Regions from separate parts of the Homo sapiens genome. Here region 1 is linked to region 2. The links are contacts of gene promoters, found by promoter capture Hi-C in blood cells and fetal thymus (Javierre and others, 2016). All regions are on one chromosome and are shown on one strand. The core of a region is centred on a gene start or on the middle of the fragment in contact, and the rest is flanking DNA. Distances in the headings are between cores, read along the strand shown.

Region 1 (2,700 bases), core at 102-2,601, 910 kb before region 2:
AAAAGAATGTACAAAGTTATTATACACAGACACATGCAAACAAAAAGACAGTAAGCAAGGCAATATTAATAATAGAATTCAAGGCAAAAAAAATAACATGATAAAGATGATGTTATTAAAGGCACAATCACAAAAATACATCTTAAACTATACATCCAACAATATAGTATCAAAATACATACAACAAACAGAAAAAGGAAAGTTTAAGAAATCACACATCTCTATATAAAATTTAAAAGATTAAGACAATTTATAAAAATACAGATGATAGGCCGGGCGTGGTGGCTCACGCTTGTAATCCCAGCAGTTTGGGAAGTTGAGGCAGGTGACTCGCTTGAGCTCAGGAGTTCAAGACCACCCTGGGCAACACAGTGAAACCCTGTCTCTACAAACAATACAAAAATTAGTTAGGAGTAGTGGCAAGCACCTGTACTCCCAGCTACTTGGGCAGCTGAGGTAGGAGGATTGCTTGAGCCCAGGAGATGGAGCCTGCAGTTAAGCTGAGATCGCGCCGTTGCACCTCCAGCCTGGGTGACAGAGCCAGACCCCGTCTCAAACAAAACAAACACAACAAACAAAAAAGATGATATAGATATATATCTGGTAATTAACAAGCCAGAATTAACAAATACACACAACTCTGAACCCAACAGAAAAAAATCTTTTAAAAATATCTATAAAAGTTCATTAAGGTCGGATGCAGTGGCTCATGCCTGTAATCCCAGCATTTTGGGAGTCCAAGGTGGGTGGATCACTTGAGGACAGGAGTTTGAAACTAGCCTGGCCAATGTGGTAAAACCCCGTCTCTACTAAAAATACAAAAATTAGCTGGGCATAGTTGTGGATACCTGTAATCCCAGCTACTTGGGAGGCTGAGGCAGGAGAACTGCTGAACCCAGGAAGTGGAGGTTGCAGTGAGCCGAAATCACGCCACTGCACTCCAGCCTGGGCAACAGAGTGAGACTCTGTCTCAAAAAAAAAAAAGTTCATAAAATGTAAATCATACAGTAAGATATGAAGAAAGTCTCAAATTACTGCAAAATGTAGAAATATTACAGCCACATTCTGATCTTAATAAAAATTAATATTAGCTCACCATGATATGGAAAATAAGACACTCTTCTAATAACTCATGACTCAAAGAAGAAATTAAAACTAAAGTAACAGACTATTTAAAAACTAACGAGAACACAGTATCTCCAAACCTATGGAAATGTGGTCAAAAGTCACCATCAGAGGAAAATGGCAAACAAGCTTTCACTGCAAATACACATACAAATCCAATCCAGCAGGGTATTAAAAGCATAATGCATCATAACTGGAAAGTTTTATTGCCAGCAACAGAAAAAGAAACAAGCAGAACGAACAAAGGCTAAATCCTAAAACCAAAGTGGGGAGATCTAGAACGAAGGGGATTTGTACTACACAAGTCTACTGTTGAAGCTTTAGGAAGCTTTTTTTTTTTTTTTGAGATGGAGTCTCACTCTGTTGCCCAAGCTGGATTGCAGTGGCGCAATATCGGCTCACTGCAACCTCTGCCTCCCAGGTTGGAGTGATTCTCCTGCCTCAGCCTCCTAAGTAGCTGGGACTGCAGGCACCCACCACCACATCTGGCTATTTTTTATTTTATTTTATTTTATTTTTTTAGTAGAGGGAGGGTTGAACTCCTGACCTCAGGTGATCCGCCTGCCTCAGCCTCCCAAAGTGCTGGGATTACAAGCGTGAGCCACTACGCCTGGCCCCTTTAGGAACATTTTAATGAAACTGACTTTCAGTAATCCAAATACATATGATCCATTTCCTGAATTCTATTTTGAAAACTAAATACGGCAGCAGCTTCACCCCAACACCATCCACTCTTCCCAAAGACTGTTCAATGTACACTCTAAGAATATATATCCATTTTAATATTATACTGAGAAAATCATTAGGCATGCAGAAGCCCTATCAAAAAAATCAAAATCTATATTTCAATGTCAATTAAAATTTCTCCACCTATTTAAACATTACTCTTAACACTGTCACCTCCCTTTGATACAAAGAACTGAAAAAACAAAATACACCTGATCGTCTTTCCAAAGTTATGCTCATTTTGTAACAGAAGGAACGAGAAGTTATCTATTAGGTTGGTGCAAAAGTAAAAACCACAACTACTTTTGCACCAACCTCTATTAAAGGACAGACTCAGACCAAGGGAACTCTAGGAGACAGAAGATTCTGTTATGATTTTCACCAGAGTTAGTACCGACAAAAAAATGCTATGCTAATTATTCTAAGTCAGGTCTGACACACAAAACCTTTTGAATATGTTCCCATTTGCTGGCTAACATATCACTTTTTCTTTAACTCATCTGGCATCCAAAACAAAAACAGATCTTTTAAGTAAAAATAATCAAAATTTTATACTGGACCTGAATGGCGAGAAGCTGAGCGATCTGGTCATTAGGACTGACGTGATGTGGGACATTTCTAATAACATGTAAAGAGCTGAGCAAAAGACAGCTGAGCTCAAAAACACTGTCTCATTATTTCAGTCTTATATATTTCCAGGTCAAAAACACCAACTTTCCTATAAATAAAACGGCTTTAAGACTACACAATTTGCTAATATGGTCAGCCCCCAGAATCCATTCTGGCCAGTACGCTGTCTACAACCTTGCAAACTAGCACACAGAAGACTGTAGGATAAAACAGCTCCTC
Region 2 (2,720 bases), core at 156-2,655:
ACAAAAATAGTTCCTGTTTCACTAAATTTTACCACTGCCTTTAGAATTAGTAAATGAAAACGCCAACTTGTAGAAGCATTAAGTTAATGCGATTTAGAAATTAAATAGTAACCGGCCTCATCACACAGATAAGGTTAGGCTTCTTCAGCCAGGGGCAATTTCTGTCCTAATTGTCACAGCTGCCTTAATGCTGTACTTTCTGCGCTGTAGCTGCCAGGAGGCAGATAAGATTTTTCTCTCTGAATTAATTCTGGGAAAGGTGGCACTTTTTATAGGCCTTAAATGACCCTTTTCTAAGATTTTTTGTTGGTGGTGTCCAGATGTTCCAATAATACTGGAGAGTTAACTATTCCTTCCAAACCTGTGTCGTTCAAACTGCCTTGAGGAGAACGGGAAAAAAGTAAGGTTCACACTCGAAAAGTTTCACTCGGGGTGGGGTGAGGACGAGGTAGGAAGGAAACGACAGTACGTATCGTTCGTAACTATCGTACAATACGTATCGTTTCCGAAGCTAGACCGGCAGCTGGCACAGTCTTTCCCCTTTCCAGGTCCTGGGGAGAAACGTCTCTCGCTGAGGGGGCTAGACACCTACGACAGCCTCCTCCTCGGGAATCAACACAGCTCTGGATCGTGACACGCTTCCAGAAGTCCGTGACGAGTGGGGGCAGAAGACAGGTTCTTCGCTTCCCCTTCACCCAAACACGTCCCAAATTGTTCGAGGCAGGAAGAGCACGCCTCTCTCATCTCCCCAAGACCTACTCTCGCTCAGCTCCCTCGCCCTGTTTCCTCTGGGGGCACCGCCACCCCGCTCGGGACTCCCGCCTCTGGCCACAGCAGCCCCGGAGCGGCAAGGGGGAAGAAGTAACGGAGAAGCGCCGGCTAGAAGCGGCCGCCTCCGGCCGCTCGGCGCCAGCCTCGGCGGCCCGGGCTTGGAGGCGAGACGAGCCCGGGAGCCGCACGGGGCTTCTCCGGCTCTGGGCCCCGCGCCCGTCTCCGCTGCGGCCTAGCCGGGCGCCCACGCCCTGGCCTCCCGGCTCCGCGCCGCCGGCCTTTCCCCGCCACCCCGGGCCGAGAGGCCCCGCGGGGGCGGACGAATGGAGGTGGAGGGGCGGGGGCACCTACCAGCTGCTGCCGGATCCAGCGCCACATTCCCCCGTCGTCGCCGTCCGGGTCCCGCGGGGCGCGGGGGCCGCGGGGCTGCAGGTGGAGGCCGACAAGACAGAGGCGGGAGCGGGCGAGCCCCTCGGGCCGAAGTTCCGCTTACCGCCGCCGCCGCCACTGCCTCACTCCCCGCGCCGCGTCCCCATCCCGCGGCGTCGGCCCCGAGTCCTACAGGCGCGGCCCCGGCGCCGCCCCCGCCCGGCGCAGCTGAGCCTGCCGCCGCGCCGCAGCCACCTTCATTATTGACCGTTGTCACCCAAAGCACCCCCGCAACCCCACCCCCGCCCCGCCCCGCCCGGCCCCCCGGCTCCACCCGGGACCGCCCCCGGCGCCCCGGCCCGCCCCCGGACGTGACGAAAGGGGGTGCGCGGACCGAGGGGGGCCTGGCGCGCCCCGCCGCCGTTCCGAGTTGGGGGGTTTCTGTGTTGTGGGTCCGGGAAGAAGCGAGCGTGGAAAGGTGCCGGGTTCTCGAACGCTGTTTCTGTCCACTGCCACCCTCCTCCCCGTTCTGGGAGTGGGATTAAGTCGTGTCTGTGGGTCTGGCCATCTCCGGAGTCTGCAGCTTGGGGCCGATTCCTCGGTCTCTACCTCCTGTTGCAGGTCTTTTTCGGGCTCTGTGGCTTCTTTGGTTCACGCGTCTCCCGACACGCATACGCACAGTCCTGAACGTATGTGACTGAAAGTTAATCCCCCCAGAAGTCCCAGTTTGGGTTCCATCAAGCTGTAAGAGCTTTCGTCTCAACACAAGTCAGGCCTCTTCTTTAGCAAATGGCTGAGACGGGGCTAGGGAAATCTTGATCACACCCATTAAGTGATTCGAAAGCGTTGCAAGTCCCCTGAGCCTGGTACAGCCTGGACCCGTGTTTCTAGGCGAATGGATGAGATATTCTGTCTTGCCGTGTGCTAAATTGGACAGGTTCAGGGGAAGATAATTTGTATAAAAAGGTAGTTCTTTACTGCTAACTGCCAAACTTCTGCAATCAAAAACACCCGTAGCAGTAACTTGACCTAGGTTAAAAAAGTGTGTGGATGACAAGCTCAGAAGGAATATACAAGCAACTGGAACAAGGCTTTGACTTAAAGGTTTGGCGTTGTTTAAAAGCAGCCCCGTATACATATTGTGTTATGTATATGTATTGAATGCTGTATTTTTGCTGAATTAAAGCACACTTCACCGACAGACGTTTGTGGTTAAAAAAAAAAAAATTAAGCGGCCGGGCGCGGTGGCTCACGCCTGTAATCCCATGTAATCCCAGCACTTTGGGAGGCCGAGGCGGGTGGATCACGAGGTCAGGAGATCGAGACCTTCCTGGCTAACATGGCGAAACCCCATCTCTACTAAAAAATACAAAACATTAGCCGAGCGTGGTGGCGGTCGCCTGTAGTCCCAGCTACTCGGGAGGCTGAGGCAGGAGAATGACGTGAACCCGGGAGGCAGAGCTTGCAGTGAGCCGAGATGGCGCCACTGCACTCCAGCCTGGGCGGCAGAAGGAGACTCCGTCTCAAAAAAAAAAAAAAAAAAAAAAAATTAAGCAAGAACAAATCTAAATGAGATTAGC

What was found. Contacts are between HindIII fragments. The CHiCAGO score rates a contact against its expected background, and 5 or more counts as called.
Region 1: a fragment that was not itself captured here is called in contact with the fragment with the promoter of ATP11B in region 2 in 1 of 17 cell types (fetal thymus); the score reaches 5.6 in fetal thymus.

Annotation. Positions count from the first base shown.
Region 1 is chr3:183,702,920-183,705,619 of GRCh38, reverse strand. All of the region lies in intron 1 of YEATS2 (YEATS domain containing 2), which reads right to left. Among named protein-coding and RNA genes, the nearest start is that of YEATS2, 6.5 kb to the right of the region's middle. The HindIII fragment of the contact is 189 bases long and covers 1,257-1,445 here.
Region 2 is chr3:182,792,189-182,794,908 of GRCh38, reverse strand. It overlaps ATP11B (ATPase phospholipid transporting 11B (putative)), which reads right to left and starts at 1,405. Exons shown (of 30, transcript NM_014616.3): 1 at 1,123-1,405. The coding sequence starts at 1,149. It overlaps ATP11B-DT (ATP11B divergent transcript), which reads left to right and starts at 1,545. Exons shown (of 3, transcript NR_187316.1): 1 at 1,545-1,829. RefSeq lists a silencer at 821-1,570. The HindIII fragment of the contact is 13,212 bases long and covers 1-2,720 here.